Regions from separate parts of the Homo sapiens genome. Here all the other regions are linked to region 3. Evidence: promoter capture Hi-C in 16 types of primary human blood cells and fetal thymus (Javierre and others, 2016). All regions are on one chromosome and are shown on one strand. Each heading gives the region's core, a stretch centred on a gene start or on the middle of the fragment in contact. The rest is flanking DNA. Distances are from core to core; before and after follow the strand shown. Region 1 overlaps LOC105376646 (a long non-coding RNA gene). Region 2 has its middle 67 kb from the start of CD82. Region 3 holds the start of EXT2 (exostosin glycosyltransferase 2). Region 4 has its middle 5.5 kb from the start of CD82.

The links. The method cuts DNA at HindIII sites, captures the fragments that hold promoters and counts their contacts. A CHiCAGO score of 5 or more calls a contact.
Region 1: a fragment that was not itself captured here is called in contact with the fragment with the promoter of EXT2 in region 3 in 1 of 17 cell types (endothelial precursors); the score reaches 5.9 in endothelial precursors.
Region 2: a contact is called between a fragment that was not itself captured here and the fragment with the promoter of EXT2 in region 3, in 1 of 17 cell types (endothelial precursors). The highest score is 6.4, in endothelial precursors.
Region 4: a contact is called between a fragment that was not itself captured here and the fragment with the promoter of EXT2 in region 3, in 5 of 17 cell types (endothelial precursors, naive CD8 T cells, total CD8 T cells and 2 more). The highest score is 8.3, in endothelial precursors.

What each region holds. Positions count from the first base shown.
Region 1 is chr11:44,515,084-44,520,334 of GRCh38, forward strand. LOC105376646 (a long non-coding RNA gene) reads right to left here. Exons shown (of 5, transcript XR_931232.1): 5 at 3,744-3,895. It overlaps LOC105376645 (a long non-coding RNA gene), which reads left to right. Exons shown (of 3, transcript XR_931229.1): 2 at 762-905; 3 at 1,928-2,087. Among named protein-coding and RNA genes, the nearest start is that of CD82, 48 kb to the right of the region's middle. The HindIII fragment of the contact is 9,306 bases long and covers 1-5,251 here.
Region 2 is chr11:44,495,985-44,501,815 of GRCh38, forward strand. No RefSeq gene overlaps it. Among named protein-coding and RNA genes, the nearest start is that of CD82, 67 kb to the right of the region's middle. The HindIII fragment of the contact is 681 bases long and covers 2,289-2,969 here.
Region 3 is chr11:44,093,548-44,098,696 of GRCh38, forward strand. EXT2 (exostosin glycosyltransferase 2) reads left to right here and starts at 2,131. Exons shown (of 14, transcript NM_207122.2): 1 at 2,131-2,305. RefSeq lists a silencer at 1,998-2,617 and an enhancer at 3,038-3,087. The HindIII fragment of the contact is 9,066 bases long and covers 1-5,149 here.
Region 4 is chr11:44,557,283-44,562,944 of GRCh38, forward strand. No RefSeq gene overlaps it. Among named protein-coding and RNA genes, the nearest start is that of CD82, 5.5 kb to the right of the region's middle. RefSeq lists enhancers at 1,881-2,517, 4,553-5,054, 5,055-5,554. The HindIII fragment of the contact is 2,347 bases long and covers 1,841-4,187 here.

The DNA.
Region 1 (5,251 bases), core at 2,655-5,154, 420 kb after region 3:
TGAAGATGGAAGAAGAGGCCAGAAGTCAACTCACGCAAGGCCTGTAGGCCATGGGAAGGGCTCTGCATGTATTCTGAGTGTGGCAGGAAGCTCTGAGGGTTTAGACCATGGGAGAGCCTGAGTGGATGCTGGGAACAATTCAGGAAATGTCCCCAGCTGGGGCAAGGAGAGACTGGAGAGGGAGGAGTGCGTGGGGATTCTTGGCATCTGGAGAATGGAGAACTGAGCTTTATGCCTTGGGTGCTTGCCTGAGGCACACACAGTAACATTCCATCTATGCTACATTTTTATATTATCATTACCTCCCTCCAGCTGTCCCTCTGTCCAGGAACCACATATCCTACTCTGTCTCTACTTCCTACACTGTTTTGGACATCTGAAAGGGTATTAGGTTCACACCAGCATGAAGTCCGACTTGATGTAATACTTTTCCAAGAATAGAGAATGCAAATGAAAGAATTTTGTTCTTTCTAACCCCAAACTTATTCCCATATCGGGCCTTTGATGCAGCTACAGCTTCGAGAATGTGGACTCTCCTTTCCCCCAGCACCTTCACCCAGAGCCTCACTATTCCATCCTTTAGAGATGTGTTGCCCCAAACTTTGCATGTTGAAGCCCTAACCCCCAGTGGGAATGCATTGGAGACAAGGCTTTTAGGAAGTAATTAAGGTTAAATGAGATCATAAGGGTGAATTCCCAATCCAATGGGATGGGTGATGTTATAAGAAGAGGAAGAGCTCTCTCTCTTTCTCTCTGGAAAGGTCATGTGAGGACAGAGTGAGAAGGTGGCTGCCTGCAAGCCAGGAAGAGAGATCTCACCAGGAACCAAATCAGCCACCACTTTGATCTTGAACTTCACGGCCTCCAGAACTCCGGACATGAGAAATAAATGTCTGTTGTTTAAGGTATTGTTTAAGATACTTAAGATACTTTGTATGGCAGCCCACGCAGGCAAAAACAAGAGGTTTCCCAACTCTTTTGATCATGTATCCCTCTCCAACAGTAAAAACATTGATGGGCATGGTAGTTCATACCTGTAATCCCAACACTTTGGGAGACCAAGGCATGAGGATTGCTTGAGCCTAGGAGTTTGAGACCAACCTGAGCAACATAGGGAGACCCTTTATCTAAAAAAAATAAAAAATTAGTCAGGTGTGATAGTGTGTGCCTGTGGCCCCAGCTACTTCAGAAGCTCAGGTAGGAGGATCACTTAAACCTAGGAGGCCTAGTCTGCAGTGAGCTATGATTGCACCACTGCACTCCAGCCTGGGCAACAGGATGAGACTCTGTCTCAAAACAAATCAAAAAACATTGAGCACACCCTCCGCCAACTGTATGCATAACTATTTATAAATTTTACATACATATGCCATATACTTTGCCATCAATCTGTGCATAAAACATCAGAGAAAATTTTGGTATCTTGTTTTTAAGATTGACAAATAACAATAAATGAAAGTTTTACTATTTTCTTCATGTACCCCATGGATTCGCTTATGCACTCCTCTTAGGAGGCATTATTTTATAACTCAATCTCTGTTATTCAGGAAAGCATTTTCTGATCTACAACTCACTCATTCATTCATTCATTTATTCATTGAACAAATATTTATAAAAGCCCTACTAAGGACAGTGTATATTAATGCATCAGATGTGGTTCTGCTCTGGAAGGCAACAATTCAGTCTTGGTGGGCCTTCCTGTAATGCAGTCTCCTCTGTGGCTAGCTGTAATTAAATAAATGTTGAATTATCTGTTTATAAGACATCTACCCTTCCCATCAGCTCTGTCTGTACCATTCACTGGTGCCCTCTTAGAACTTGGCACATAGTAGGTATTCAATAAGTAGCAAATGGATGAATGAATGAACACATGAACAAAAGAATGAATGACTGAGCTCACTTCCCCTTTTTTCTCCCCTTTCCTCAGGTCAGTCTTGCCATGAAAACATTTTGAAGCAGCCCAGGGGCCGGCAGATCGGCCAGTGGAGTGGGAGTGATGGGGGGAGATTTGTGAGCAGGGGCCAGGTTAGCAGTGGTTTTATTACATCCCATTAAGCATATGGTCATAATTATAATAAGCACATGAGTTATGGCGAGTGACATATGTTTCTTTAGAAAAAAAAGGAGAGGAGGAAGAGAAAAAGAAACACTGCAAGCCCCCAGAAGTGGCCTGGATAGGTGGCTGGGCCAAATGAGTGAGCGTGGGCCTGCCCTGCCCTGTGCTTTTTAACCCCTTCACATCCTGGGCGTGACCTGCAGAAGAGAGAGAAGGCAGCCAAGGCTGGGCTCCAGGGAGATCAGGGACTCCCAGGCACCCAGCAAGGTCTGGGGGCTTCTGAGAGGATCTTGCCCACTTCTCTGAGAGTCACCAGAGGACAGGCATGTGGTCAGCTAGTTAGTGTTCCAGTAGCCAAGACAAGACCTGGCCCAGAGCAGACATTTGGGGTGTGTGTGTGTGTGTGTGTGTGTGTGTAAAGAGAATGGAGGAGGGAGAGGAGGAAGGAGAAAAGAAAGAATAAAGAAAAAAAGAAGGGAGGGAATAAGGGAGAAGAGAGAGGGAGGTGATTAGAGCTTCTAAATGAACTTTCATTTGTTCATTCATTCAACAATCAGGTTGTTTAACGCACATGGCATGGTGCAGTGGGTGAGCCCTGGGCTGGGGTCGGGACACCTGGGTTGTTCCCTGGGCTTCTCCATTCATATCCTGTGTGGTCTTGGGTAAACCACTTTCCTTCTCTGATCCTGATTTTTCTAAGGGGCTGGTCACTCAAATCTTTCTGGGCTTGGGCTTTGTGGGGTTTGCAATCCTCTGGGTGGACAGGGACCCAGAGAAGCCTGCCTCCTGCAGGAGATGCACCAGGGATGTCTGCAGCCAACCCTCAGCCAGGAGGTTCCTAACAGATCATTTAACCAACCTCCCTCTCATCCATTTTCCAAGTGTAAAAATAGCAGCCTGGATGTCTGTGCTGCCTCCCCATGAATAAGCCAGTTCTTCTTCTGTCTTCCATGTCCCGAGGTCCAAAAGGACTATAACCAAAAATTCAAAGATACAAGCATCTTTAGCCCATCTTCCATGATCAAAGAGATCTCCATGTCTGGGAAGCAGCAGAAGACAAGGGACCCTATTCTAAGAAGCACCACCTCACCCTGGCAGCCAGACCTCTAGCCCTCGGCCCCTAGAACAGGCATCAGGGGCTGCAGAAGGAGGCTGTGGGAACTGGGGACCGTGGACACCAGAACCTGGGGGGTCAGGAGGAACCAGACCCCATCTCTGAAAATGTGCACTAGAGCCTTGTCACCTAGAGAACAGTGCTTTAACTCACTCAAGTGGTTTCACACCATCTTGGTTGATGAGGAGATGTGATTTGCTCAAAATCTCTCAGCAGCAGGTGGCAGAGCCAGGCAGGGATGCGGGTCTGCCTGAAGCCTGTGCCAGGCCAGTTCTTCCTGCCCAAGGGCCCTACCTCTGCAGAGCGGAGGCCTGGCCTGGCCTGGCCTCTAAAGGTGTGACCTGGGGCAAGTCAGGTCAGCACTCTGACACTCAATATCTTCCCCTGTAGAATGGAGACCGCCCCTCAGAGGGCTCTTGGTGGGGGTGTGGGGCTTGGGGCAGGACCAAGTTAGAGCTTCCCAGACTTTTCCCCAAGGGAGGTGGCTTTTATTATCCTGTGTTTTGAAAGATTTCTATCTCTTGAACAAACTTTGTTTTAAAGTAATAATTAATTTATTTCCCCCTTCTTATTCCTCAAAGACACAGGTGGTCATCCTCTGAGAGATGACTGTGGCTTCCATGCTTGGCTGTCAGAATTCCAGTCGCCTCCAAGATGGAAGACTCTGCCCAGCCTGGATTCCTTGACCACAGGCAAAATATGTCTGGTCTGCGAGGGCCCCTGAACTGTTGAGATGACAAGATTAAACCCAGAAGGCCATCTGCCCTCTGAGGACCCCATGCCAAGCACCCCTGAGAGGGTGATGGTGATCATAAATGAAGCTGTGGGCCTTCATGGAGCTCCCTGACAGACCCACATGGCTCCTGGAAGTTTGCATGTGTGACCTGGAGGGCTCTGGCACTTGTGCTCATTTTGCAGAAGAGGAACTGTGACTAAGACATCAACGATTCCCCCCAAGCTGGGAGGTGGCAGAGTCAGGGCTTCAGTTCTATCTGATTCCAGAACGACCCTTCTGTTGTAGTCAGCTTGGCCTGGCTTAACAAGACACCACAGGGTGGGTGGCTTAAACAACAGACATTTATTGCTCCTAGTTCTGGAAGCTAGAAGTCCAAGATCAAAGTGCCGGCAGATTATGTTCCTGGTGAGGGCTCTCTTCCTGGCTACCTTCTCACTGTGTTCTCAAGTGGCAAGGAGAGAGACAGAGAGGTGTAACTCTGGTGTTTCTTCCTTTCCTTATAAGGACGTGAATCCCAAGATGGGGGTTCCACCCTCATGACCACATCTCAACCTAATTACCTCTCAAACACCCCACCTCTAAAACCTTCACATTGGAGGTTAGGGCTTCAACATGTAAATTTGGGGGGAACACAAACATTCAATGCATAACATGCCCAAAACCCCAACACTAATCTCCCCCTTCCCATGACTGAGTCCAGCAAGGCCTCCGTGAGTGGATCCTTGCCCTGGAGGACTTTGCAGTGTAGCAGAGAATGCTGGACGAAAATTGATCTGACCAAACTTGCAAGGCAGCCATGCAAAGGCCCCAGGAGGCCTCGCAGGATTTGGCCAAAGATTGGCCACTGGTCCTGCATCAGAGCCAGACAGCCAGGAGAACTCTGAGCTTCCCTCTCTGTGCCTCAGTTTCCACCGCTACAGAGCACGGACACTGATGCCTCAAAGGGCTGCTGAAAGCCTTCCAAGAAAACAGCAGAGGTCAAAACGCCCAGCGACCTGCGACTGAAACAAATCCGCCCTCGGGCTGCAGGCCTTCTCTGTGCGTTGCCAGGTGGGGGCGGGAAAGGAAACGGAGGAGGATCGCATTCTGGGGGCCTGTCCCGGGAACTGGGGCCGCCCCGCAGAGTGATGGCCACAGTGGGACGAACCTCCAGATAAATAAGAACAGTCCGCGTGAGCCGGGCTCATCTTAACACTAAGCAGAGGGGCCTGGGGCCGGACTTGAAAGCTGCCGGCTGAGATGGATGGGCTGCTGCCGAGGCGGGGGCAGCTGGGCGCGGGGAATGAGTGATGGGGTGTCGGGGCGCTCAGTCACCGCCAGCCAGAGATGCCGGCCTCTGTCCGGC
Region 2 (5,831 bases), core at 1,379-3,878, 400 kb after region 3:
AACATGGCAAAACTCCATCTCTACTAAAAGTATAAAAATTAGCCAGGTGTGGTGGTGTTCACCTGTAATCCCGGCTACTGGGGAAGCTGAGGCAGGAGAATCACTTGAACCCGGGAGGCGGAGGTTGCAGTGAGCCGAGATTGAGCCACTGCACTCCAGCCTGGGTGACAGAGTGAGACTCCATCTCAGAAAAAAAAAAAAAAAAAAAAAGAAAACCTAAATTGTATCATTAATTTTATAATTTTTATTATTGCTTTTCTTAATTTTGTATTCATTCCCTGCCATCACGGTACTGAATTCAGCACTCTGCTCAGACACACAATAAATATTTGTTGACTAAAATAAAAAACAAAACCACAAAGTGCATCACTCCAACCATTTCTTCCATTGTCACATTTCCTCTCTGACTTGGACTTTCTTGGCTTCTCTCATAAGGATCCTTGTGATTACACTGGGCCTATCCAGATAATCGCAGATAATCTCTTATCTCAAAATCCTTAACTTAATCACATCTTCACATTTCCTTTTGCCATGTAAGGCAACATATTCTCAGGTTCCAGGGGATTAAGATGTGACCATCTCTGGAGGAGGGGGCACTTTTCTGTCTGCCACAGGTGGTAACCCCCCGCAGCCACAGCGATCATGGCAGCTGAGCACAAAGCCCTCCCTGTGGCTCTTTCACACATTAACATTGGAAATCTAGTGAGCTGGTCAGCCTGATCTTGGCTATGACAGAAGGCAGAGCAAAGGCATGCCTGATGTAGAGCTGTAGAAGGGCTAATGGCTTGGCAAGAGCTGAGGGGTGGTGATGCTGGGAAGGGAGACCAGCCCAGGGTCTCTGCACAGGGGGTGATGGAGCATGGTCAATACAGAGGCTGGCGAGACAGTGGTGGTGTTGGTCAGACAGCACCAATAGGTAGCCTTCCAGGACAAGTTCAGAAATGGACCCCACCCACCTTGCCAGAACACTTAGCAGAGCACAGAGGAAACCACTGCTTCTGAGAGCCAGCCCTGCAGCTAGAGGTCATCTCTCAGGGTCTCACTCCTCAGCTGGAAAATGCAGGTGATGAGAAGGGTGTCTCCCTCATAGAGTTACCGTGAGCATCCATGAATGATGGGTGAAAAGGGCATCACATGGTGCCAGGCATATGGTAGGTGCTCAGGGAGTGCTGGCCATTGACGCAGAGGTGGCCATCTGTGCACCAAAAGTGTATGCTCCCCAGCTGAGTCGTTGCTGGAAAACAGCAGCCCAGCCAGGGACTATGTTTCCTGGCCCCCTTGCCTCTGTGTGTGGTCATGTGACTGGTTCTGGGTCCAGTAGAATGTGAGCAGAGTAATAAGCCATTTCCAGGCTGGGCCTGTTCGATACCTGCTGTGGTCCTCCACATCCTCTCTCTTCTCCTAGCTGCCAGCTGAATGCTGATGCCCAGGAGGACTGTTGAAGCTAGAGGGTAAAGACGGCAGAGCCTCCGTCAGCCTAGGACCTGAGTACATCTCCCTGGTATTCCACTGCCGTTCAGACTTCGTGTGAATGAGAAATAAAATTCTATTGTGTTTAGCCACTAAGATCTTGGGATTTCCTCTATCCATAACATCAACTAACTTTACCTTAACTGATAGGATTGTCAATAATTCTTAGCTATCTGATAATTTGAGAGTCTGGCCCAAGAAATAAAACTGGCTTGAGTCTCAGAGAAGAGGCTTGGGAAATCTAAAAATGGAAGAATGGGGCATTGCATCGATTATAACCCTGAGGTCTCAAGGCTGACCCTTGTTGGGACAGTGTGAGGTGTACAGGCTAAATGTTGCAACTAGGATCAAAGGACCGTTAATAACAACTACAAATCATTAAGCACTTCCTGTGTGCTGATGCCTTCTTTGCTTTACCTCACTGAACCTTAAGAAACAGGTACCAAGTTTATTCTATTTACCAAGGAGGAGCTACTGTAAAAACCTCCCAGAGAGATTCCAAGTTTGGTTAAAGTTGCACAGCTGCAGAGCAGGGGAGCTGAGATTCAAGTCCAGGGTGCCTGATGCCAAGCTGCGCTCTCAACCTTTGCACAGATTCCCTCCATTGTAGGCTGCTGGGAGCTACAAGGATTGCAGGCTGCTGGGAGCTACAAGGATTGCAGGCTCATAAGCAAATTTTATGTTCAGCAATGACAAATTACCCAGGATTTGGCTAAAACCATCACATTCAGAGGCTCTAGAATCAGATTTGCGTAATAAGCAGAGGAGGTCCTCAGGAGAAGGGCCTAATTTATAATTCTGGGGCCAAGAAGTCTGCAAGCTTTGAGTTTGAAGACATATAAAGAGAGGTGATCTGCCTGCCTTTCCCTTCCCAATTCCTTCATCTGGCCAACATCACTAATGCTTCTGGCATTTTTATTCTTGGCTATTTACAAAACAACAAAGTTGAGTTATTACATTTTAGATTTTGACAATTATGGGTTCACAGTTAAATAATCTTATAGCTATTAAGACAAGGGTGAACTCTCACTACAACTGTCAATGTCTTTGGGTCCCAGATCCCCTAGGGCCCATCTGGAAGAGTCCATATTTCTTAAGCAAGCACCCAGAAGGTTGCATATTAATATCTGCCTCCATTATGTCTTGTCACAATAATACTGAGTAACAACCACAAAGACTCAGAGGCACACAACAATAAACATAGATTTGGCTCAAGAGTCTATGGAGTTTCATTGGTGTGGGCTGGGCTCAACTGACCTTGGCTGGACTGGCTCATGCATCTGCTGTCAGCCGTGGGTGGTCTGGAAAGTTCTGCTGATCTTGGCTGGGCTTATGCCCATGTCTGGAGTCGGCCAACTCTTGGCTGATCTAGGATGCCCTCGTCTGAGATGACTGGCTGACTCAACTTTGCTGCACAAGTCTCATCCTCCAACAGGATAGCCCGGGCATATTCCCATGGCAGGTACAAAGGCTCCAGAGAGAAGTGGGAAATGTACAGAAGCTTTTTAAAACACGTGCTTGTATCACATCTGCTAACATCCCACTAGTCAAAGCAGGCCACATGTCTGAGTTGCAGAGGAAGGACACTAAAACGTTACATAACAGATGGCAAGAATACAAAGAGGAGTAGATAACAAGGAGGGGGACATTGACACCGTTGATCTGCCATAATACTTACCATTTGCTGTGTATTTACTGAGAGCCAGAGACAGGGTGATACCCATGAGTATTGAAGATGATGTATGTAAAGGATCTGGCCCTTTAGAGCCAGATTCAGAGCCTCAAAGAGGTAAAGTAACTTTACAAAGGTCACACAGCTAGTAAACAGCAGAACTGAGATTAGAATTACATGCTTGTGGACTCCCGTAGGTGATTTTTCTATACTAGCACATGGCTTGGTTATTAATATTTTTATTACTAATTTTGAGGCTGCGTCCATACCATAACTGCTTACATTTCTTCTTTGTTTTTTTCTTTTGAGACGGAGTCTCGCTCTGTCGTCCAGACTGGAGTGCAGTGGCACGATCTCGGCTCACTGCAAGCTCCGCCTCCCGTGTTCACGCCATTCTTCCGCCTCAGCCTCCGGAGTAGCTGGGACTACAGGCGCCCGCCATCACGCCCGGCTAATTTTTTTTTGTATTTTTTTTCAGTACAGACGGGGTTTCACCGTGTTAGCCAGGATGGTCTCGATCTCCTGATCTCTTGATCGCCCCGCCTCGGCCTCCCAAAGTGCTGGGATTACAGGCGTGAGCCACCGCGCCCGGACAACTGCTTACATTTCTAAATTAGGCAGAAGATCCATATAGAAGGTTTGGGCCTTTGTGGGTCTGTTAGTGTAAACATTTTAAATATACAATTTAAAATAAGATGCTTACCCCAAAATAACAACAGTAATAATAATAACTTATCAAGAACTTACAATATGACAAGCACTGTGCTAAAATTTTTACATATGTCCCATCTTATTTAGGTCTCTCAATCATCTTACAAGCCAGGTATCATTTTCCCTTCTATTTTACATTTGAGTTTGTAAGAGGCAGGTATCAGTTCTAACCCAGGTAGGATAATGACCAAGCTTAGGCTTCGAACCGTCTTACTAAATGGCTCCCCGTTTGTGTTATGAAATAGAATTTGACATTTTTGGGGTCACTTTGGGGGTGATCAGCCAAGCCCCCACGAACCTCTCCCTTTCTGCTTTCATCTGCTTCTCTCAGGTGTCTGATCTCCTCAGGCAGGATTAAACCAGGCATGGGGTGCGGGGAGGGCTTTGGGTGGAGGGGCAGCTTCCAACGTTGCAGCGGTGAAATTGTGCTGGGAAGTAGGCGGGGCGGCGGGGGTTGCTCCTCATGGAGTGAACAGGCACTGGCCACTGGAACCTGGTTTCTTGGCAGTGCAGCCTCCAAGATGGATGGCCATGGCCTTCAGGGCTGGACAACCACTTCGCGGGGCTTTGATGCTCAAAGCAGAGCAAATGTGAGCCGGCCGCCTGGCCACAGCTGCCTCTCATTAGGGTCTGCTTCCTCCAGCCCAGGACAAGGTGGGCCCACGAGGTAAGCGGGGGCAAACACCATATGTGTCACCCCATCTGGCTGCAAAACCCTGCTCTTGACTTCTTGCCCCCAAATCCTCTTCCGAGTCCCCCACCCAACATCCCCCTGGTTCTTCAGGCCAGAATCTGAAGTCTGAACAGGTCTTCCCTCCCCATCATCACTACTTCCCCACATTGAATCCATCAGCAAATCCTATCGGCTCTGTTTTCAAAATAATCTTCAGTCTAACCAGCCTTCTCAACTCCATTGATAGCACCTAAGTCACATTCAGTCTGGCCTGGTTAAGGGCAGGAGCCTCTGGTTATGGGTCAAATTGTGTCCACCAATTAAATGTATATGTTCAAATCCAGGCTCCCCCACCCACCACCTCAGAATGTGATCTTCTTTGGAAATAGGGTCACTGCTGGTGTGATTACTTAACGTGAGGTCATACTGGAGTAGTATGGGCCCCTAATGTTCCTATTTAAAGGGGAAGTTTAGACACAGACATGGACGTGGGAGAATGCCTTGTAAAGATGAAGGTGGAGATTATGGTGATGCCAAAGATTGTCAACAAACTACCAGAAGCTAGGTAAGAGATAGGAAATGAATTTTCCCTCCCAGCTCTCAGAAGGAACCACCCCTGCTGACACCTTGATATCAGATTTTTTTAAGTGTGGGATGATGAATTTCTATTGTTTAAGCCTCCCAGTTGGAGATGCTTTGTCACAGGAGCCCTGGGCAGGTGCAGCACCACCGAACTGGATTCTCCACCTCCTCTTGCCTCCCTCCCCATTCACCCCCACTCACATGGCACTCCACAGAAGACTGATACTTCAACAATTCCAATTTGGACCATGTCATTCCCCTGCCTAGAATTGTGTGCAAGCTTACCATGGCCTTGGGAGGTAAGCCAGGCCCTGGGAGACCTCACTCCTTCCTTTCTTCCTCTTTCTCCCTAGCCCTCTGCCCTCTGCCTACCCCAGCCTTCATGTCCATCTTGAGCATGCCCCACCCTTCTAAGGGACTTTGCAAATACTGTGCCCTCACTCTCTTCCAAGTCTTTGTACAATCACCTTGTCTAAAGAGCCAAGGAAGGGGCCGGGAGCGGTGACTCACACCTGTAATCCTAGTACTTTGGGAGGCCGAGAAGGGTGGATCACGTGAGGTCGGGAGTTCAAGACTAGTCTGGTCAACATGGTGAAACCCTGTTTCTATTAAAAATATAAAAAAAAATTAGCTGGGTGTGGTGGTGGCCACCTGTAATCCTGATTACTTGGGAGGCTGAGGCAGGAGAATTGCTTGAACCCAGGAGATGAAGGTTGCAATGAG
Region 3 (5,149 bases), core at 881-3,380:
GCCCAGCTGCTTTTCCTTCTTTAACACATGCTCATGACTTTCTTTCTCTGCCTTGAATGCCCTTTTCACCTCTCTGCTTGTCAAAATACTAAGTGTCCTCCAGGATAAACAAAGATATCAACTGTTGATTGAACTCTTCCTAGATTTTTCCAACTGGATGTCACCTCTTTTTTTTTTTTGAATTCTGTAGCATTTTGTTTATATGCTTCTATGCCACTTTTTACCTTCTCCTTTGAATAATCTTATTGTCTTATTTCTAGTTAGCTCCTCCCAGTGTCTAGGCATCCTTTCTCCATTCAACAACTATTTATTGAGCAATTAACTATATGCCAGGCATTAGGCAAGTTTAAGGTTATAAAAAATGAAGAAGATAGGCAGCATTGTGTGAGGCTGTGCCTCACACAGTTCTTTAACACGGCAAATTCTCATTTTATAAAAGAACAAAGGATTAATTAAAAACATACATGTTTAAAATACAGATAAATATGGAGAAGAAAAAAAGAGGCCACAATCTTCCAGACCAGATAGCTATTGTTGACTTATTTCAAAAAGTGAAAACAATATTCCCTGGGATAAGATAAATTTGGATACAGTTCCAGTGGTGATTGTCACTGCTCTCCACCCATCCAGTTCTCAAATGGGGTGGGTGTGTGCTACATTTTGTATCATTTGCAGGGGGGATTTGATTTGGAAAGCAGAGCAATGCCCCCTTGGATGTGGGGAAGCAGAACATGAGTGTCCCATCCCCAGAATGTCCTCATCCCAATCTCCCTAGATCTGTGACAAGCAGGCATTAACTCACAAAAATATCCCTGGAATCGAGGTTGCTGCCGGAAGCCTCTGTAGGTATCTAGTCTCAGAATCATCACTTTGAATATTTAAGCTATCAGTGACAACTTCCACCAGATGGCGCCAAAGTACATCTGGGACCAGAAGGGATTTGGATCCTGTAGCCAGACCCACAACTCTACCAAACCAACATCGCAGGCCCAGGGGTCATTTCATTAACCTCTCAATAACATCGCTCTGAATTTTAATTTAATTTTTTAGTTTCCACTTACTGCTTTATGACAGCGGTTTTAGTGTGCATGGATAGGGCTAAATCATGTAAATAATAGAGAAAGATACAAAACAAAAATGCGTTTTTTTTTTTTTTTTTTGGAGACAGGGTCTTGCTCTATCACCCAGGCTGGAGTGCAGTGGCACGACCACGGCCCACTGCAGCCTTGACCTCCTGGGCTCAAGCAATCTTCCTGCCTCTGCCTCCTAAGTAGTTGGGACTACAAGCGTGTGCTACGATGCCTAGTTAACTTTTTATTTTTTGTAGAGATGGGGTCTTGCTCTGCTGCCCAGGCTGGTCTCAAACTCTTGGGCTCAAGCGATCCTCTCGTTTAGGCCTCCCCAAATGCTGGAATTACAGGCGTGAGCCACCTTTCCTCGCCATAAATGCTTCCATTTCCGCCTCGACAACTACTCCACCTGAAGCTGTTCATTTCTTCTTGCATTCCTTCCAGAAAAAAGTTATACACATGCCTGAATATAAGCACCTACTTTATATATTTCTCCCTCTTGTTTTTGCATATGCATAGTTTACCTAAAAGTGACTTGCCCGCTGTTTTGGACTACGCTTTGATCTTAACTAATATCTTGGAGATATTTCCTTACCCAAATATATTGCACTATCTCACATTACTCAAATCAATCAAATTCCATAATTTATTTCGATTGTGTCTAGCATTTCGCTATGATTAGAAAGAATGCTGTCATGGAACTTTTTGACAAACATTGTTGAGAATATCCATAGGGCAAACTCCGTACAGAGAGCTTGTTGGAATGAAGGGTACCAGCATTTTCCGTTTGATGGATAGTACCAAATTGCCCTCCAGGAATGTTATACGCTCACCAGAACTGATTATAATAAAACGTCTACATATTTGTTAGTTTTATAAGCAACGCGTGGTGTCTCGTTTGGGTTTAAGGATTCTTTAATTATGAATGAGGCTGTCTGAGCATTTCACTGCGGAGCCTGAGCGCGCCTGCCTGGGAAAACACTGCAGCGGTGCTCGGACTCCTCCTGTCCAGCAGGAGGCGCGGCCCGGCAGCTCCCGCATGCGCAGTGCGCTCGGTGTCAGACGGCCCGGATCCCGGTTACCGGCCCCTCGCTCGCTGCTCGCCAGCCCAGACTCGGCCCTGGCAGTGGCGGCTGGCGATTCGGACCGATCCGACCTGGGCGGAGGTGGCCCGCGCCCCGCGGCATGAGCCGGTGACCAAGCTCGGGGCCGAGCGGGAGGCAGCCGTGGCCGAGGTAAGCGCGGCTCTCCAGGGCGGCGGCCGGGCGGGCGCTGAAGCGAGGGCTCGGGCCTCCGGGGGCCGCTGCTGGGTCGGGACAAGGGCCGAGGGAGCGCGGCCGCGCGGAGGCTCCGTGGAGGCCCGTGGGCTGCGAGAGGCCACCCCCAGCCCCGCCGGGGCTGTGACAATGACTGCCCGCTTTTGGAGCGCTCCGATTTCCACTCCTGCTTCTCCTTCTCCTCCGGCGGCGGCCGCGCTTTCAGCATCTTGGTACCCACCTGTTCTCCTAGCCAACCTTCGCCCCCAGTCCGCTCCTTCCTTTCCTCCTGCGACCCGCCCTCCGCCCTCCGCCGTGACCCCTCCCTTCCTGCTGCCACCTTCCCGCCAGCCACAGGGATCTGATTCCTCCCAGGGGGATGTCCTGCGCCTCAGGGTCCGGTGGTGGCCTGCGGCATCCCTTGCGGTGCCAGAAGCCGTGGGACGAGGTAGGGAAGGGGCCAGGGGCATGTTATGCCGGGGACTGGGTGGTCGGGGGCGTGTTAGGCCGGGGACTGGGTGACCGGGAACTAGATGGCCGGGGGCGTGTTAGGCCGGGGACTGGGTGGCCGGGGTCATGTTGGGCCAGGCACTAGGTGGCTGGGGGCGTGTTAGGCAGGGGACTGGGTGGCCGGGGGCCTGTCAGGACGGGGCAGGAGTATGTTAGACTGCGGACTAGATTGCTGGTGGCATGTTAGGCCAGGGACTAGGTGGCCCGGGGGTGTGTCGGGCCGGGGCCAGGGGCATGTTAGTCTCGGGACTAGGTGGCCAGAAGCACACTGGCTCTGGGCTTCAACTTGAAGTCCAGAGGTGTTTGGGGCTTTGTTACATTCGGTGGGAACCAGATCTAAACACACAATTTTGAGAATCAAAGAATTGCTTGGTGTTACTGATTGGGCAATGCTAATCTAGAAAGGTTCTTGACTTATTTATGTGAAGATATGGTCTTGAAATATGTACATTTAAATTCTTGTAAGTCTTAACTTCTTGTAAGTCAGGTAAGTGCTCTATGTACTTTAACTGGACTTAGTTTGTAACTTTCAGAACTCAAAGGCTATTCACTGTAATAAAATAGATGATTCAGTTTCCATCATTCACTTTCCCCGACTTCCTGGTTGCATGTGAGGGTATGAATGGATAATCAGTTTTGGGGCCAGACTGCCATGCTGTGAATCCTAGCTTTGGCATTTCCAGTTGTGTAATATTGGGCCAGGTACTTAAACTTTCTGTTGTACTATCCCCATCTGTAAAATGAGGGTAATAATAGCTTGGCTTATAGTGCTGTTATGAAGATTAAATAAGTTAACACTATAAAGTGCTTAAAACAGACCCTGGCATGTAGTAAGTGCTTAGTAAGATTTACATATTAATTATGTAATGACACACATTGTCTTATGGTATAATTCCCATGATTAAAAGGGCATTGTTTTTAATTGAAAATAATTTTTAGGGGCATTTAGCCATAACATAACTTTAATTATAAAGAATCCTATCAAGTAAGGCAATGAATTGTGGCTTTTTTTGCTTTTGCTTATATTTGGTTCCTCTGTTTTTCGGAATGGTTGGGTTAAGATCCAGTGTGGCAGTGGCCCCAGGAGTTCAGCTGTAAGGCCCTTTCTAAAAAGGTTAAGAAGAGGCCAGGCGCGGTGGCTCACGCCTGTAATCCCAACACTTTGGGAGGCCGAGGTGGGTGGATCACTTGAGGCCAGGAGTTCAAGACCAGCTGGCCAACATGATGAAAACTTGTCTCTACTAAAAATACAAAAAAATTAGCTGGGTGTGGTAGCACACGCTTGTAATCCCAGCTACTTGGGAGGCTGAGGTTGTAGTGAGTTGAGATTGTGCCACTGCACTCCAGCCTGAGTGACAGAGCAAGACTCCATCTCAAAAAATAAATAAATAAATAAATAAATAAATAAATAAATAAAATAAAAATAAAAAGGTTGAAACGACAAGAGACTGTGACTGAAAACATTGGACTAAGTGGATTGGCTATAACCTGAAGCACCAAGGAAAGATTATTCAGGCAAATTTTAGGAATAAATAATTCCAGGAACAGAAAATGCATCTCATCCTCACAATAGGTTGGGGTTAAAAGACTTTTCCAGTGACTCAGTGCTTGACAGCTAGCCAGATGATTCCAGTGTTTTGCAGGGGCAGGTTTGATGTGTTTCAAGGTGATAAAGTTTGTAGGGCTGAAATTCTTGTTTTGATCCAGGTTATGGTATTGTATGGAATAAACCTTCATTAGTAGAAGATTCCTTTCAGTCTGTCATCTTCCGGGGATTTTAACTTCTTGGTGGTAGGGAGCAGTCTCACTGGACAGAGAGATTATGACTTGTTTCCTCGGATGATGGTTTGGAGATACTCCATCTCTCTGTGCTTTGGCATGTGAAAACTGTTTTGGGAGGATTGGTTCTGTGTGTTACAGGGGTGAGGTTGGAGTGTCCTGAGTCGGGAGCACTGTCACTTCAGTCTAGGCTGGCAGTTTTACAAAAGGGGTCCAGTATAGCACAGGTTTATAAAGGCAGGGGTGCAGCCTGGGCACGGTGGCTCAATCCTGTAATCTCAGCACTTTGGGAGGCTGAGGTAGGTGGATTACCTGAGGTCAGGAGTTCAAGACGAGCCTGGCCAACTTGGCAAAACTCCGTCTCTACTAAAAAATACAAAAAATTAGCCGGGGATGGTGGTGGGCGCCTGTAATCCCAGTGACTTGGGAGGCTGAGGCACGAGAATCGCTTGAACCCAGGAGGCAGAGGTTGCAGTGAGCCGAGATGACACCACTGCACTCCAGCCTGGGCAACAGAGAGAGATTCTGTCTCAA
Region 4 (5,662 bases), core at 1,764-4,263, 460 kb after region 3:
GGCAGGTCACAAAAATGAGGGAAGCAGGCTAGATGAGCCATAGGCACAGTGGGGACTGTAGCCAGCTGGAGGTCATATGTCGCAAATAAAGAGGTCAGCCACAACTCAGGTCCATCCGCTGTGGCCCCGTTGGAAGGCACAGCAGGAGGCTCAGATGTCCCTATCCCTATACATCTAAAAATCAACATAAAATTCCCCAATTTTTAAATGCTGGCCACAAATTCAAAACTTTTTCAACTCAACTAAGCCTTGGCCTTCTCAACTGTATAAGGGAGAGAACGTCTACACCATCAGCTTCTTGGGCCACAGGTGTGTTCTTTTAGATCTCAGGCCTGATTCAGGGAAAGATCTCCCCACTGATATAGTGCAGCTCCACCGAAGAACAGCTGTGAGAGTTCCCCTTTCTGCAGCACCTCCTCATCCATCTCAGGGGCTTATGAGTGCAGGCATACATTGCTTTTTATTACGCTTTACAGATAACGTGTTTTTTACAAATTGAAGGTTTGTGGCAACTGAACTGAGCAAATTTGTCCGTGCCATTTTTCCAACAGTATGCACTCACTTTTTGTCAGAATTTTGGATCAATTTTTTTTTTTTTTGAGACTGAATCTCTCGCCCTGTTTCCCAGAGTGCAGTGGTGTGATCTCGGTTCACTGCAACCTCTATCTCCTGGGTTCAACCAATTCTCGTGCCTCAGCCTCCTGAGTAGTTGGGATTACAGGCGCCCGCCACCATACCCAGCTAATTTTTGTATTTTTAGTAGAGACAGAGTTTCATCATGTTGGCCAGGCTAGTCTCATACTCCACACCTCAGGTAATCCATCCACCTCGGCCTCCCAAAGTGCTGGGATTACAGGCATGAGCCTCCACACCTGGCCAGGATCAACAGTTTTTAAGTAAGGTATGCACATTTTTTAGACATGCTATTGCATACTTAATAGACTATGGTGGAGGGTAAACATAACTTTTACATGCATTAGGAAACCAAAAAAATTTGTGTGTCTCACTTTATTGCAATATTCGCTTCAGTGTGGTGGTTGGGAAAGGAACCTGCAACAGCTCCAAGGTGTGCTTCTATCTGGAGACTGAAAAAGCGCTGCCCAGAGTAGTCCCCTTTCTTCTGCTTTGCTCTTCCAAAAATCCCTCCCTAAAGGCGTGGCCGATGGTCTCCAATGTGATCCGCTGGGGTTCAAGGAGAAAATAATAGGACTGCTTTCTGTTTATTTTATAGATATATATATACAATATTTTAAATAATTATCATTTAAAATTTTTGTTTTTTGGCCAGGCGCAGTGACTCACACCTGTGATCCCAGCATTATGGGAGGCCGAGGTGGGTGGATTGCCTGAGGTCAGGAATTCAAGACCAGCCTGGCCAGCATGGTGAAACCCCGTCTCTACTAAAAATACAAAAAAATTAGCTGGGCGTGAGTGAAACACACCTGTAATCCCAGTTACTTGGGAGGCTGAGGCAGGAGAATTGCTCCAACCCAGGAGGCAGAGGTTGCAATGAGCCAAGATTGTACCACTGCACTCCAGCCTGGGCGACAGAGTGAGAATCTGTCTCAAAAATAATAATAATAATAATAATAATAAATAAAATAAAATATTTGTCTTTGTGCATAGTTCATATTATGCAAAATGGCTAATAAAATAGTACATACATATCTATTATAAACAAATGACATATATTGGGATGTATATAACCCTACCATGGGTTTAAGCTGATGCCTAAAAAGAAAAATAAACGGGTAGAACAGGGAATTTGGGGAGGGGGGGACATGATTTAATAGTTTCAAAGACTTACCCAAGTGCCACAGTTGTAAGATAAATATAAATAAGCTTTAGAATATGTAAAGTGCTACGCAAATGCTAGTTATCAAATTAGTTAAATATATTTAAATTAGTTATTTTACAGCTTACTTTTAAAACGGTGGCTGCCATTATTAGTGTCGTAGTTGCTATGGCAACATGGCAATGTACAGGGGCTAAAAGCCCCCTGAAGAGTAACCCCTGGACCTTCAGATGTAGTAGGCGGCAGGGCAGGATTTGAGCAGGGGCCTCACTGATCTTTCTGAAATGACTGAGACAGGAACAAATCAATGGCTCAGTGTCTTCTGTGGGAACTCAGCCCCTGTCCTCAGCTACAACCCAGCTATAATGGGCTTAGAGTTCCAATCCCCTTTAAGTGCTTTGGAGAAAAAAATAAAGGTCGGTGGTCCTGCTGAGCCCATTCAAATGCAGGAATGACTGTGTTCAGGAATAGAGAAATGGAAACAGAAAGTGTGGGAAAGTGCTATTAACCACTTCCTGGCCTGAGACTCGGCAAGAGGACAGAGGATAGGGCGGGGTTATGCCAAGCAAGTGCTGGAGCCCAGCTTTCTGGGGCCAGCCTTCTTTCTGTAAGCAGGAAGCAGGGTCCCTTCAAGGCCCTGGGGAACCTCCTTGATCCAGTGCGAGCTTTTGCGATTCAGTGTTGGGCGCTCACTGGGTCCCAACTTGGGCCTTTCCCCTAGGGCTCAATTTCAGGAACTGAAAATTGGGTTAGCTATATATAAGCTGCAACTTCACTTTCCTCCATCACTTGTTAGTTGTATGACTTTAGCATCTGAGTGCTCCATTTCCACATCTTGGGAATGGGCCTCATAATAGTATGTGCCTCACTGGGTTGTTGCTATCAGGATTAAATGAGTGCAATTTTTAAGTTTGTAACTTTAAGGAAACAGTGCAGGTTTAGGGAGGGAAGTGCTAACTCTATTCTGAGGACTCTTGAAGAAAGATCTTAAGACATCCACTTACTAGGCCAGGCGCGGTGGCTCACGCCTGTAATCCCAGGATTATGGGAGGCCGAGGTGGGTGGATCACGAGGTCAGGAGATCGAGGTCATCCTGGCTAACATGGTGAAACCCAGTCTTTACTAAAAACACAAAAAAATTAGCTGGGCGTGGTGGCACACACCTGTAGTTCCAGCTACTCACAAGGCTGAGGCAGGAGAATCACTTGAACCTGGGAGGCAGAGGTTGCAGTGAGCCGAGGTCGCACGACCACACTCCAGCCTGAGCAACAGAGTGAGACTCCATCTAAAAAAAAAACAAAAAAAAGACATCCAGCTACTCAAGACCAGTTGTCCACTGCTGAACTTCTTATTCATTTGTGCACAAATGCTTGTGTGATACATACTGTATACCATTTTTTAAAACAATCAATTGAGTTTGAACTCTCAGCTCCCATCAGAGAAACCCTCCTCCAGTCATTCTGAGGACTCGCTTGGGGCAGATTGTATTTTTCACAGATGGCTGCAACAATATCTCCTTTCTTGAAAACTCTTCTAGAATTTTGTTACCCCCTGGTTAAGAAAGAGACTATGTACCCTGCTCTTGAACCAGGGCCTTGGTGACTGCTTCTACTAATAGGATGCAAAGGAAGTGATCCTATATGACTTCTAAGGCTAGGTCACAAAATGCCATGCACTTCTAAGTGAGTCTTTGTTCTTCAAAACCGGCAGCCAAATTATGAAGAAGCTCAAGCAACCTGTGGAGCAGCCTCATGGAGAGGACCAAAGGCCTCCACAGCTCTGGCTGACCTCCCAGCTGGCAGCAAGTGCCAACTTGCTAGGTGTGTGAGTACACCATCTTGAAAATGGATCCCCAACCTCCAATTGAACCACCTGACATTGCGTAGAGCAGAGATAAGCCGTTGCTGCTGAGCCCACCCCAAACTGCAGATTTATGGGCAAAATAAATGAGTGGGATGGTTTGTTACATAACAGTAGGAAACAGATACCCGCACTCATTCTCTTTACCTTCCTCCACCAGAGATGTGCAAAAGTCTTGGGGCCTTAACCTAGGCCCAGACACTAACAGGGAACTGGCCCCCATGTTCTTGCCTACAAGTTCTTTGAAGTCTCCTGCTCAGCTGTTCATCTTCCACCTTTGGGGTGGGGGAATCTTCTGAGAGCCTGGCAATCCTATAGCCATACCTCTCTGAGGTCTTGCCACACCACCGTCTTCCCCATCTCCAAGTTGGCCATGGATATCTTCTCTCAAGGCTTTCTAGGGTGGTTCTTCTCACCCCTTTTCCCACCTCCAGAACTCCTGGCTCCACCTCTAGAATGGACTAGAGGTAGAGTCTCACTAGAAGTGTCTGCGCTTTCTGCCTGGCAAAATGCCCAAGGTGAGTCATGACAAAGCTTGCCTTCTGCTGGAAGAGAGGGGATAGGGACAATGCTGAGGGAGCCAACCCAATGTGATATTTCAGTGAATGACTCTGCTATGGTTTGAATGTATTGGAAACTGAATCCCCAAATTCATATGTTGATGGTATTTGGGGGTAGGGCCTTTGGGAGGATTAGATAAGGTCATCAGGATGGGGCCCTCATGATGAGGACTGGTAGCTTTATAATAGGATGAAGAGAGACCTGCGGTGGCATGCCCTTGCCCTCTCACCATGTGATGAGTCAGTAAGAAGGCTTTCACCAGATGTAGCCTCTCAACCTTGGAATTCCCAGGCTGCAGAACTATACAAAATAAAATTCTTTTATCGATTACCCAGCCTATGGTATTGTGTTATAGCAACAGAAAATGGACTAAGTTAGACTCAGATGCACATCTACTCAACAACTGTCCCTTAAGCTTCCAGGCATGTGCTAGAAGCTGGGGAGACAAGGCCAAATGGCAATGTCACCATAGACCTGGACAAGAGGGCACCTGTGGCCACCCAGAGCCCACACCTGACCTTGATCATGCTTTGGGTGTTTAAAAACCTAGACTGCCTATCCAGCCCAAGCCAGTTTTTTTGTTTTGTTTTGTTTTGTTTTGTTTTGTTTTGTTTTGTTTTTTGAGACAGGGTCTTGCTCTGTTGCCCAGCTGGAGTGCAGTGGTGCAATCTCAGCTTACCGCAACCTCCGCCTCCCTGGCTCAAGCGATCCTCCCACCTCAGCCTCCCGAGTAGCTGGGACCACAGGCACACGCCACCACACCCAGCTAATTTTTGTAGTTTTTGTAGAGACAGGGTTTCATCCTGTTGCCCAGGCTGGTCTTGAGCCCCTGAGCTCTTTAATCCTCCTGCCTCAGCCTCCCAAAGGGCTGGGATTTCAGGTGTGAGCCACTGTGCTCAGCCCCCCAGCCAGTTTTAAGGTTTACAAAGCTGCCTGCCCAGGTCCATCCTCCTGAGGGTACATCCTGTCCCTGGAATGTGCATTCATAGAGAGGTGACGAAGAGGTGGCTGTAGGCAAGGCGTGTGGGCAAAGTTTGGGTGTGTGGGCTGGAGTATCCACATGCCTGAGTCCTAGGCCACTTGTGACACAAGACAGAGATGGAGTGTGAAGAGAAGTGGAGTGGGTGGGCTGAGGGCTAGGGCCAGGCTATCCTCCCGCACTGCCATGTTCTTGCATAAAATTCTAAAGAGTCCAAGAATGCTAAATTTGAACATGGTCTTCCTGGTCATTAGAAAGAACATTTGTCAAGGCAGGAGAATACACATTTTATTTCACAGTCAGTTAAATGTTTAGATACAAGGTATCTGGTCCTTGATTTGCACTCTTAACTTGGGCTCTCCATGTTCGGGCAGGTCAGCATAACAGGACCAGTGCCCAGGCCCTGCACTCCTACAGGGAGACACTCTTCTGTGGGACTCAGACAATGACAGGGAGTATGGCAGAGA